Linked DNA regions of Homo sapiens: regions 1 and 2 are each linked to region 3. Evidence: promoter capture Hi-C in 16 types of primary human blood cells and fetal thymus (Javierre and others, 2016). All regions are on one chromosome and are shown on one strand. The core of a region is centred on a gene start or on the middle of the fragment in contact, and the rest is flanking DNA. Distances in the headings are between cores, read along the strand shown.

The links. Contacts are between HindIII fragments. The CHiCAGO score rates a contact against its expected background, and 5 or more counts as called.
Region 1: a contact is called between a fragment that was not itself captured here and the fragment with the promoter of DLL4 in region 3, in 1 of 17 cell types (endothelial precursors). The highest score is 5.3, in endothelial precursors.
Region 2: a fragment that was not itself captured here is called in contact with the fragment with the promoter of DLL4 in region 3 in 1 of 17 cell types (erythroblasts); the score reaches 5.4 in erythroblasts.

Annotation. Positions count from the first base shown.
Region 1 is chr15:41,357,253-41,361,363 of GRCh38, forward strand. It overlaps NUSAP1 (nucleolar and spindle associated protein 1), which reads left to right. Exons shown (of 11, transcript NM_016359.5): 6 at 897-1,006. Among named protein-coding and RNA genes, the nearest start is that of NUSAP1, 26 kb to the left of the region's middle. The HindIII fragment of the contact is 1,388 bases long and covers 906-2,293 here.
Region 2 is chr15:41,207,713-41,211,292 of GRCh38, forward strand. EXD1 (exonuclease 3'-5' domain containing 1) reads right to left here. Exons shown (of 12, transcript NM_001286441.2): 7 at 1,789-1,875. Among named protein-coding and RNA genes, the nearest start is that of EXD1, 21 kb to the right of the region's middle. The HindIII fragment of the contact is 2,807 bases long and covers 532-3,338 here.
Region 3 is chr15:40,926,503-40,930,599 of GRCh38, forward strand. It overlaps DLL4 (delta like canonical Notch ligand 4), which reads left to right and starts at 2,838. Exons shown (of 11, transcript NM_019074.4): 1 at 2,838-3,232; 2 at 3,345-3,614. The coding sequence starts at 3,167. RefSeq lists silencers at 1,980-2,049, 2,643-2,732. The HindIII fragment of the contact is 7,449 bases long and covers 1-4,097 here.

The sequences.
Region 1 (4,111 bases), core at 350-2,849, 430 kb after region 3:
AGCTACTTGGGAAGCTGAGGCAGGAAAATCGCTTGAACCTGTGAGGCAGAGGTTGCAGTGAGCCAAGATCATGCCATTGCACTGTAGCCTGGGCAATAGAGCAAGACTCCGTCTCAAAATAAATAAATAAATAACATAAAAACAAGAAGAATATGAGACAGAGACCATACCATATGTGGCCATAAAGCCTAAAATACTTTTTTTTTTTGAGACGAAGTTTTGCTCTTGTTGCCCAGGCTGGAGTGCAATGGCGCAATCTAGGCTCACTGCAACCTCCACCTCCCGGGTTCAAGCGATTCTCCTGCCTCAGTGTCCCGAGTAGCTGGGATTACAGGCGTGCGCCACCACACCTGGCTAATTTTTGTATTTTTAGTAGAGATGGGGTTTCTCCATGTTGGTCAGGCTGGTCTCGAACTCCTGACCTCAGGTGATCTGACCGCTTTGGCTTCCCAAAGTGCTGAGATTACAGGTGTTGAGCCACCATGACCAGCCAAGTCTTAAATACTTTTATCTAGCCCTTTATAGAATAAATTTGTCAGTCCTTGACATACAGCATTATAAAATATCAAATTCATTATTAAATAAAGACCACTTGTGACTAATTGGTAGGGGAGAAGATAAATCTTCTACTCTAATCCTCTGGATTAAACCAAGATGTCAATTTAGTGAAATTTGTCAGTGGGGAGATGGTGAATGTTTGATAGTTTATAAGATGAATGTGCTTTGCCCCTGAGTTTCCAAAAACTAAGTATTTTGAAATTAATGTTTTAGCAAAAATTATATTGAAGTTGAATGTCAGGGATGCAAAGAAGAGAATAAGTGTTAACAGAAAAACACAGAGAAGATAAATAAATGGATTTTGTTTTGTTATTAATTTTTATATTGGAACATTCTAGACTTTAAGAAGCTTCATGAAGCTCATTTTAAGGAAATGGAGTCCATTGATCAATATATTGAGAGAAAAAAGAAACATTTTGAAGAACACAATTCCATGAATGAACTGAAGGTATGTAGATAAAATTATGTTCTTAATGGAACTAAACTGTTTGATTATAATTTTGAAACTATATAACACCGTGGTTACAACAACTGGCTGTCACTCTACCAGTAGATTTGTTTGAATTTAATATATCTTTATCTAAAACTTGCTTTCCCCTACCCTGAGAATTTTCAAAGTCCTCTAGATAAAACAGTGAATCCATGGCCAAGCGCAGTGGCTCATGCCTGTAATCCCCGCACTTTGGGAGGCCAAGGCAAGTGGATTACCTCAGGTCAGGAGTTCAAGGCCAGCCTGGGCAACATGGTGAAACCCTGTCTCTACAAAAAATACAGAAAATTAGTAGGGGGTGGCACATGGCTGTAATCCCATCTACTCAGGAGGCTGAGGCAGGAGAATCACTTGAACCAGGAGGCCAACATTGCAGTGAGCTGAGATCGCGCCACTGCACTCCAGCCTGGGTGACAGAGTGAGACTCCGTCTCAAAAAAAAAGAAAACAGTGAATCCTGACTATGAGAAACTATTTCCAAAATGGCAATGTCATTCTACTTTCCATATTCAGATGTTTTGCCTATTACTTTCATTGATGATGAACCAACTTATGGCTGAAGCCATCTTCTTTCCCTCGTCCCTTATGTAAAGGAAAATGGGTGATTAATAGTGGCAAACCTGAAGGGTTCCTGTGGTAACAGCTCCCTCGAGGGCTTTCAGTCCAGGTTCCACAGGACTCAAAGCCTCCTCAAGTAAGAGAAGGTGATAAAGTCAACTCTGAGGCTGAGTTAGCAAAGTAGTGAGTAACATTCTAGCAAGTTGATGTTATTGGTATCTGGTGTTAAGGCAGTGCCGAATGGAGGGCAGGAAACACATTTTTAAATATTTATGGATTTATGTATTTTTCTCATAAAGACAGGGTCTCCCTATGATTCCCAGGCTCTCCTTGAACGCCTAGGCTCAAGTGATCCTCCCACCTCAGCCTCCCAAAGTGCTGGGATTACAGGTGTGAGCCACCAGATTATATTTATTTCTATTCGCTGTATTTAATTCTTAACCCCATGTTTATTTTACATAACTTCCCTATTTCTCAAAAAGAATTTAAGGCCTATTCTCAAAATAATGTAAGTTTATGGTATTAAATATAAAATAGTATAGTCAATTTAAAAGCGGCAGAAAATTAGCACTGTTAGTAGGTACAGTATTTACTACCATCAGTCACTCAGCTGAGTTTAAGTTTTCTGGCAGCTAGGGCCAAGAGGAAAACTCACTGGGTGATAAATTGTAAATAATTTAAGTACTTAAGCTTCTTGGTGAGAAGCTTAATTGAAATAATAAACATTCATTTTAACGATGTAAAACCACTGTTACAACCATTTTTTTTCTTTTCTTTTCTTTTTTTTTTTTGAGACAGAGTTTCGCTCTTGTTGCCCAGACTGGAGGGCAATGGTACAGTCTCAGCTCACTGCAACCTCTGCCTCCCTGATTCAAGTGATTTTCCTGCCTTTAGCCTCCCCAGTAGCTGAGATTACAGGCGCCCACCACCACACCCAGCTAATTTTTTTATTTTTAGTAGAGACGGGTTTTCACCATGTTGGCCAGGCTGGTCTTGAACTCCTGACCTCAGGTGATCAACCCACCTCCCAAAGTGCTGGTATTACATGCATGAGCCATTGCTCCCATCCTCACTGTTACCACATTTGAAGGCACTGTTTGTCAAACTTTTTTTTTTTTTGAGACTCAGTCTCACTCTGTCACCCAGGCTGGAGTGCAATGGTGCGATCTTGCCTCACTGGAACCTCTGCTTCCCGGATGCAGCAGATTATTTTGCCTCAGCCTCCCAAGTAGTTGGGATTACAGGTGCCCACCACCACACCCAGCTAATATTTGTATTTGTAATTTTATTTATTTTTTTTAGATGGAGTCACATTGTGTTGCCCAGGCTGGAGTGCAGTGACACAATATTGGCTCATTGCAACCTCCACCTCCTGGATTCAAGTGATTCTCCCACCTCAGCCTCCCAAGTACCTGGGATTACAGGCAACCACCACCACACCCGGCTAATTTTTGTTTGTTTGTTTGTTTGTTTGTTTTGACACAGTTTCACTCTTCTTGCCCAGACTGGAGTGCAATGGCGTGATCTTGGCTCACCACAACTTCCACCTCCCAGGTTCAAGCAATTCTCCTGCCTCAGCCTCCTGAGTAGCTGGGATTATAGGTGCCTGCCACCACGCCTGGCTAATTTTTTGTATTTTTAGTAGAGACGGGGTTTCACTATGTTGGCCAGGCTAGTCTTGAACTCCTGACCTTGTGATCCACCTGCCTCAGCCTCCCAAAGTGCTGGGATCACAGGCATAAGCCACGGCGCCCAGCCCCTGCTAATTTTTATATTTTCAGTAAAGATGGGGTTTCACCATGTTGGCCAGGCTGGTCTCGATCTCCTGACTTCAGGTGATCCACCCACCTCAGCCTCCCAAAGTGCTGGGATTACAGGCGTGAGCCACCACTCCTGTCCTCACTGTTACCACATTTGAAGGCACTGTTTATCCATCTTTTTTTTTTTTTTTTTTTTGCGATGAGTCTCACTGTGTCACTCAGGCTGGAGTGCAGTGGTGCGATCTTGGCTCACTGCAACCTGCACCTCCCGGGTTCGACAGATCTTGCCAGCATGGCAAAACCCTGTCTCTACTAAAAATACAAAAATTACCTGGCCATGGTGGTGGGTGCCTGTACTCCCAGCTACTCAGGAAGCTGAGACAGGAGAATCGCTTGAACCCAGGAGGTGGAGGTTGCAGTGCATGGAGGTCACACCACTGCACTCCAGCCTGGGCAACAGACCAAGACTCCATCTCAAAAAACAAAAAAAATAGGCCAGGGCGTGGTGGCTCACACCTGTAATCCCAGTACTTTGGGAAGCTGAGGCAGGCGGATCACCTGAGGTCAGGGGTTTGAGACCAGCCTGACCAACATGGAGAAACCCCATCTTTACTAAAAATACAAAATTATCTTGGCATGGTGGCGCATGTCTGTAATCCCAGCTACTCGGGAGGCTGAGGCAGGAGAATTGCTTGAACCCGGGAGGCAGAGGTTGCGGTGAGCCGAGACCATGCCATTGCACTCCA
Region 2 (3,580 bases), core at 685-3,184, 280 kb after region 3:
CATTAATTTGCTTCCAGTTGCAGAAAGGACAGCTGTAGTCCAGATCCCAGCACTTTGGGAGGTTGAGGTGGGCAGATCACCTGAGGCCAGGAATTCGAGACAAGCCTGGCCAACATGGTGAAACCCCATCTCTACTAAAAAGACAAAAATTAGCCAGGCATGTTGGCTCATGCCTGTAATCCCAGCTACTCAGGAGGCTGAGGCATAAGAATTGCTTGAACCTGGGAGGCGGCGGTTGTAGTGAGCCAAGATTGTGTCACTGCACTCCAGCCCATGCAACAGAGCGAGACCCTGCCTCAAAAAAAAAAAAAAAGAAAGAGAGAAAACAAAAAGAAAGGACAGCTGTAGACAACTGCATGTTCCTCTGATACCCAGAAAACCAAAGGGGACAATTTAGGAAATAACCTAGAACTGCCCAGACCTGTGTTACCAGGAAGTCTACTCTCTTTTGTTTTGGTAGATGGAAGTTTAGGGTTGTTTTAAGTAATTTGTATTTGTGCTGCTAATTCAAACCTAGTCATCTAAAAGCTAAGCTTGGCTAGCTGCAGTGGCTCATGCCTGTAACCCCAGCACTTTGCGGTTAGGCTGACTCAGAAGGATTGCTTGAGACCAGGAGTTTGAGACCAGCCTGGACAATATAGGGAGAACTCATCTCTGAAAAAAAAAAAAAAAAAAAAAAAAGTAAAGGAAGAGGGACCCAAAAGCTATCCATCCTCTAGCTATTCTTCAAGGCTAACTACAAACTTTTAAAAAATATTGGCCAGGGGTGGTGGCTCACGTCTGTAATCCTAGTACTTTGGGAGGCCGAGGTGGGTGGATCACTTGAGATCAGGAGTTTGTGACCAGCCTGGCCAACATGGTGAAACCCCGTCTCTACTAAAAACACAAAATTAGCCAGGTGTGGTGGCGCATGCCTATAGTCCCAGCTACCCAGGAGGCTGAGGCAGGAGAACCGCTTGAACCCAGGAGGCGGAGGTTGCAGCGAGCCGAGATGCACCACTGCACCCCAGCCTGGTGACAGAGCAAGACTTTGTCTCAAAATAATAATAATAATAGTAATAATAATAGAGACTCTCATTTAATATCTCCCAGGTCCAGGGAAACTAAAATGATGTGGTGAGAAACCTGCTGTGGAAAGCTACCACCCCAGAATGAAAAGAGACGACACTCTTCATAGAACTAAGGTGATAGAACAGAACTGGGAAAGACCTCCAGCAGAGCCCGAGAGACAGCACTAATGGCTTTAACAGCGAACCTATTCTTGCTACTGAGCTTAAAAAAAAAAACAAAGTGAATCTATAAGGAGACAGAAGCTCTCTCCTTTTGAAAAGAATAAAGTGAGTACCAGGAGAAGGAAGAACATTCCAACAAGTTATGCAACAATGACACTAGGGTGACAGAAAGAAGACAATTAATAAATCTACCAGTGAGCCAGGTGCAGTGGCCTATCCCTGTAATCCCAGTGACTAGGGGGGCTAAAGCAAGAGGATTACATGAGGCCAGGAGTTTGAGATCAGCCTGGGCAACACAGCAAGACCCCATCTCAAAAAAACAAAGCTGGGTGTGGTGACATGCATCTGTAGTCCCAGCTACTCAGGAGGCTAAAGTGAGGATAGACAGCATGAGCCCAGGAGTTCAATGCTGCAGTGATCTATGATCTGCACTGTGGCCTCAGTGACAGAGTGAGATCCCATCTCTAAAATACAGTTTTCAAAAAGAAGGAAAGAAAAAAATCTACCAGTGGCTCTATAATTACTTCAAAATAAAAAGTTTTCAAAAATCTTTCACCTGCAGCCAGCACAGTTTGCCATGGCGACATACATTCGCTCCTTCTGCTGCCACACTCAGGACATTCTGCTTCTTGATATGGAGTATCTGGTAAGAAAAAGAAGGAAAGGAAAAACTTTCAGGGAATAAATGTTGGCATGATAACATCATGATTGGCACAAATACAATGGTCAGCAGTAAACAAAGTGCATCATCTTTGTTAAACTTACAAAATTTGATTAATCCAAAACAGTCTGTTTTACACATGCAAATAAATCAGCACTGAATACTTCTGATTCTTTTTTTTTGTTTTAGCAAAAGTGTTCCACAGCTGGAAAATAAATCACTCAGACCCCAAATGACAATAAGAGTTGAGAACTCAGACACCTTTTGTTACCACTGATGCTACAGAGAAAGAATCATAATCTGTTTTTATATTTTAAATTGAGACAGAGTTTCACTCTTGTTGCTAGGCTGGAGTGCAATGGCACGATCTTGACTTGCAACCTCCACCTCTCAGTGGATCAAGAGAATCAAGTGATTCTCTTCCCTCAACCTCCCAAGTAGCTGGGATTACAGGCATGCACCACCACGCCCAGCTAATTTTGTATTTTTAGTAATGACAGGGTGTCACTATGTTGGTCAGGCTGGTCTCAAACTCCTGACCTCAAGTGATCTACCTGCCTCGGCCTCCCAAAGTGCTGGGATTACAGGTGTGAGCTACCAAGCCTGGCCCTGAATTATAATCTTTAAGACAAGATTCCTCATGCAAACTATGGCATGCCCTAACACAGGGCAATTTACCACAACTGAAAGGAATATAGGTGGTGGCTAAGTCTCAGAGTATCCACTGCTCAGAAAGACAGAAACAAGGACTCTTCAGGTCCCTTAAAGCCTCGGATTCACTGAATTACTCAAAACTGAAATAGTGGCTGGGCGCAGTGGCTCATGCCTATAATCCCAGCACTTTGGGAGGCTGAGGAAGGAGGATCGTTTGAGCCCAAGGGTTTCAGACCAGACTGGGCAAAACAGTGTCTGTACAAAAAATACAAAAAATTATCCAGGCATGGTGGTGCACACCTGCAGTGTAGCCCCAGCTACTCAGGAGGCTAAAGTGGGAGGATCACTTGAGCCTGGGAGGCTGAGGCTGCAGTGAGCCATGATGATGCACTTCAGCCTGTGTAAAAAAAAAAACACAAAACACTGAAATAGTGGTACCCCAGGTACACACTCTTGTCCTTTGATTATCTATAATCTTACCCTATTTCATTATACAATTCTATAATCCTTAATCCATAATTCATAAAAATATTTGCATGATAAAAGATTCTCCCCATTTTATAGGTAGTTCAATTATTCAATAACAGAAAGGCATAGTAATTTACACTAGCAACATATCTCCCTTTAGAGAGCATAAAGTGTTCTCAATTCTGAGTATCTCTCATCAATGATGAGAAAATGGCACTGAATTTCAGCTTCATTCCCAATCAGATGGCTGCAGAACCGGCAACAAAAGCTGCATTCTCTACTGATGAGAATTCCTAATTACCTCTTCAAACTTCCAGAGCAAAAGCTTCTTTTTTTGTTTTTTGTTTTGTTTTGTTTTGTTTTTGAGACAGTCTCATGCTGTCCTCCAGGCTGGAGTGCAGATCATAGCTCACTGTGGCATGAACTCCTGGGCTCAAGCTATCCTCCTACTTTAGCTTCCTGCAGCTTCGACCTCCGGGGCTTAGCTGATCCTCTCATCTCAGCCTCCCGGGTAGCTGAAACTACAGACCTGTGCCACCATGCCCAGCTAATTTTTTGTATTTTT
Region 3 (4,097 bases), core at 1,588-4,087:
TGGAAGGCGACCTTAGCGCTTCCCGGTCCTCAGTGCCGGTTCTTATGGCTGGAGGACTATGCGCAATGGCCAAGCGTAGGGGGACAGCAGAAGCAGAAGGCCTCTAGGGGCAGAGGCGGTGGGCCTTTCATGAAGCCAGGCCTCGACCCTGCGCCCGCTTCCGACGTTGGGGAGTGTTGAGGGTGCGGGTCGAATTGAGGAACCCTGGGCCTGCGGAGGGTCAGTGGTCTTTCGGACTCTGGGTCTATCTGTGCACCCTTTCCATGCTGTTGTGGAGGGTCTGCGTCAGGGGCGGGGGCAGCCGACTTCGATGGGGGTCCAGCCCCACGGTGATCGGTGGCCTCCCATCCCAGGACCACGCGTGTAGCGTTCTTCCGCCCGCAAGTCCGAAAGTCCCGAGTGGGAGAAGAAGGAAGGCGCAGCCCCAGTTTTGGGCTGACAGAAACACTTGCGGCCTTCGCACTGGGCTCCCCACCCGCAGCATGACCCTCTCCTGCTCAGCAAATGTGGGCAAAGCTCGACCGCAGCGTGTGGGAGCGCTCGTAGGTACCCAGGGCCAAGGGTGGCAGTGTCCTAGCCCGGGAATGAGCTTCTGGGACAGCGCCTCCGCAAATAGGTGTTTCATGAATGTCTTTTGATGCTGAGAATTTAACCCTTTCCTCTTCTGGTCAGAGCCTTTCTAGATCTCTGGGATCTCCTGGGTGCTGCCTCTCTGAAGATAATAATCCCAACTTTTGTTTGGTCCTTGATAATTTGCAAAGTACATTTGGGCACATTAGTCTGGGCGTGTATGAGGGTAGAGAGTGTTCCAGATTTTCCAGTATTGGGAGAGATGCCTTGTGTGGGACTAGATGTCTCCCTTGAGGGTCAGGTAAGCAGGACCAGCGCCAGAAAAGGAGGATGTTTTTATTAACTCCTGGGCCAGGATTTGGAGTTGAGAGAGGACAGGGCTAGGTAGGGCTGGATGCCAGCTTGGAGGGGAGCAAGGGGCACCCGCTGGCATCTTAGAGAGGCAAGTCCAGGGATCCATAGGGTATAGGCGGAGAGAAGATCTGGGAGCCCACTTGCCAGGATCGCCGGGAGGCACGCCCCGGACTCCCCCTCCCTCGGGCCTGGGACTCCGCCTGCCCATAACCTACATTAACTCCCGAGCGCAGCCTGGGCCCATCTGCCGCCCCGCCCCACCTCGGTTCCCCACGCCAACCCGCTCGCGCCAGATGGTGGCTGGGAGGGGTGGCCGTGCGTGGGGGACCCCGGAGCCCGTCTCCTCACCTCGCCCCTCCCCCAACCCACGCTCCCAACCTCTTGTTTCTCATCCTTCCCCCCCCCACCACACCCGTCCCCCAGTCCTCCACCACCACCACCCAACTCAAAAAAAAAAATCAGACCATGCTCGGCATTGGCAGCTGTTGGGCTTCTCGCCGCTCCCCCACCCTTACCGCCTCCCCCGGGTTCGCGCCGCGTCCCGGCTCCCCCCCCGCGCTGATCTTACCGCCCGACTACAGCCATCACCTCGCGGGCGGGCTGACAGCTGAAGCCACAGGGCCCCCGCTGCCCTCGGCGTCGCAAAGAGAGAGCTCCCCGGCACCCCTGAGACTGGGAGAAGCCGGCCCTCCCCGGTCTGCGGTCTCCGGGGATCACGCCGGGTTCCGAGAAAGCAGCTGCGCTGCTGCCGCTTGGAGGAGTGGGGCCACCCAGGGGACCCTCTCGGGCGAGACTTGGGAAGCCGCCTGAAACTCAAACAGCTCCGCAAGCCTCCAGTTCCACCCCACATCCCGCCTTATGAGGCGAGGACCCGGGCCGACCCGGCCTCAGTCCCTCACCTTGATTCTCCAGTGGCCTGAGCCAACTCTGGCGTCAGGAGAGTTCCTCCTTGCCCCAGCTGAGCGACAGGGCGCGGCCGGGGGCTTGGGGCTGCTGGGGTGGGGGGAGGCAGTGGGCGCAGGAACTGAAGCTGGACTCAGGTGAGGGGACGCGCTGGAGGCGGGGCCAGAACCTCATTACCATACAGCTGAGGACGCGCCCCCCTCCTACCTCCGGGACCACGCCCCGCCCTCCCCCACCTCAGGGACCGCGCGTCTGGGTCTCTGGCACGCGCCAAGCCCTGGCAGGGGGCAGAAGGGAGAAGGCACGCGCTGGGCACGCCCCCCCTTAGCTAGAGAGGGAGACGCCCAACAGGTGCACAGAGAGGGCCCCGAGCCTTAGACCCTTAGCCCCTAGCCTTGCTCAGAGTGGCCACAGAGAGGTTAACGCTTCTGCTGGCTTCCCTGCTGCGCTGGGGACGCGTGGTGGGTGGGCACTCATAGGTTGGGGGCCGTTGAGACAAGGGCTCCAGAAGCTCCAGGAAGGAAAAGGAGATCGGATTTCCCTAGCGCTGGTTTTTGCATTCCGGGCTTAAGTTCTTTTTACCTGCTTTGGAACACTAGGTAACTAGCGCCTGCTGCGGATGCACAGCCTACAGGGACTGCCTAGTGTCTCCGCCCCCAAGACCATCCCCGAACCACCCACTCACCTCCTGCCCCATTACCGGGCAACCCCTCTATCCTCCGGCGGCCAGGGTCTCAGCCCTTAACCCCGCCATCACGGAGGACTGGTCACCTCGGCACGCGCAGAGCTGGGGGACCTAGAGGTTGGGAGCGGCACGGAGGGGCGGGGACCTGCGCCCGACTGGCTGACGGGGAGGGGGGAGCGGCGGGGGCGGAGGCCCCCTCCGGGCGGCGCTGGGACTGTAGCAGCTAGAGGCCGGGAGGGGAGGGGAGAATGACCATGAGTCTGAGTGACAGGCGGCGAGGAGAGGAGCCAATATATATAAGGAAGGCCCCCAGCGCGCAGGTTTCAGTAGCGGCGCTGCGCGCAGGCCGGGAACACGAGGCCAAGAGCCGCAGCCCCAGCCGCCTTGGTGCAGCGTACACCGGCACTAGCCCGCTTGCAGCCCCAGGATTAGACAGAAGACGCGTCCTCGGCGCGGTCGCCGCCCAGCCGTAGTCACCTGGATTACCTACAGCGGCAGCTGCAGCGGAGCCAGCGAGAAGGCCAAAGGGGAGCAGCGTCCCGAGAGGAGCGCCTCTTTTCAGGGACCCCGCCGGCTGGCGGACGCGCGGGAAAGCGGCGTCGCGAACAGAGCCAGATTGAGGGCCCGCGGGTGGAGAGAGCGACGCCCGAGGGGATGGCGGCAGCGTCCCGGAGCGCCTCTGGCTGGGCGCTACTGCTGCTGGTGGCACTTTGGCAGCAGGTAACACGTCCCGCGCCCTCTCCGTCCCCTCTGCCGCGCTCTGGGCCTCAGCCCCGGGCACCAGCTGAGCTGACCGGTCCCCTCCCTCCTTCCCTCGGTCCCTGTGCAATAGCGCGCGGCCGGCTCCGGCGTCTTCCAGCTGCAGCTGCAGGAGTTCATCAACGAGCGCGGCGTACTGGCCAGTGGGCGGCCTTGCGAGCCCGGCTGCCGGACTTTCTTCCGCGTCTGCCTTAAGCACTTCCAGGCGGTCGTCTCGCCCGGACCCTGCACCTTCGGGACCGTCTCCACGCCGGTATTGGGCACCAACTCCTTCGCTGTCCGGGACGACAGTAGCGGCGGGGGGCGCAACCCTCTCCAACTGCCCTTCAATTTCACCTGGCCGGTGAGCACAGCCTGGGCGCACTGGGAGGTCGCAGAAGCCGAGAGAGGAGGCGCCCTGGGACCAAAGCCCCCTCCCCAGATTTCCTTGTACACACACCCCCACCCCCAAAAAGCCCAGGATGCATTCTTTCCTGGCTCTTCCCGACTCTCTCCTGAGACTGATCCCAGAAAAGGCTCTCACCAGTCTCCGTCTTCCCAGTTTATGTCCTCCCGTCCCCAGCTCTTGGGACACGATTTTCATTACCTACCACTCTGGGGCGGTACCCTACCACCCCCTCCTCCAGTGGCTCTCCCTTACACTCTCCCGTCTCTCAACCCTCCCTCTACCGGGGGTTCTCCTCTCGCCTTCCCTGCTCAAGCGCTACACTGTGCACAGCCCCGTTATGTTGACCCGGGCGCAGTAACTGAATCCTGCAATTAGATTAATTAAACAGGCTGCCGCAAGGCACCCCCACCTCTCCCCGCTTGCTCATCTCGCCATCTC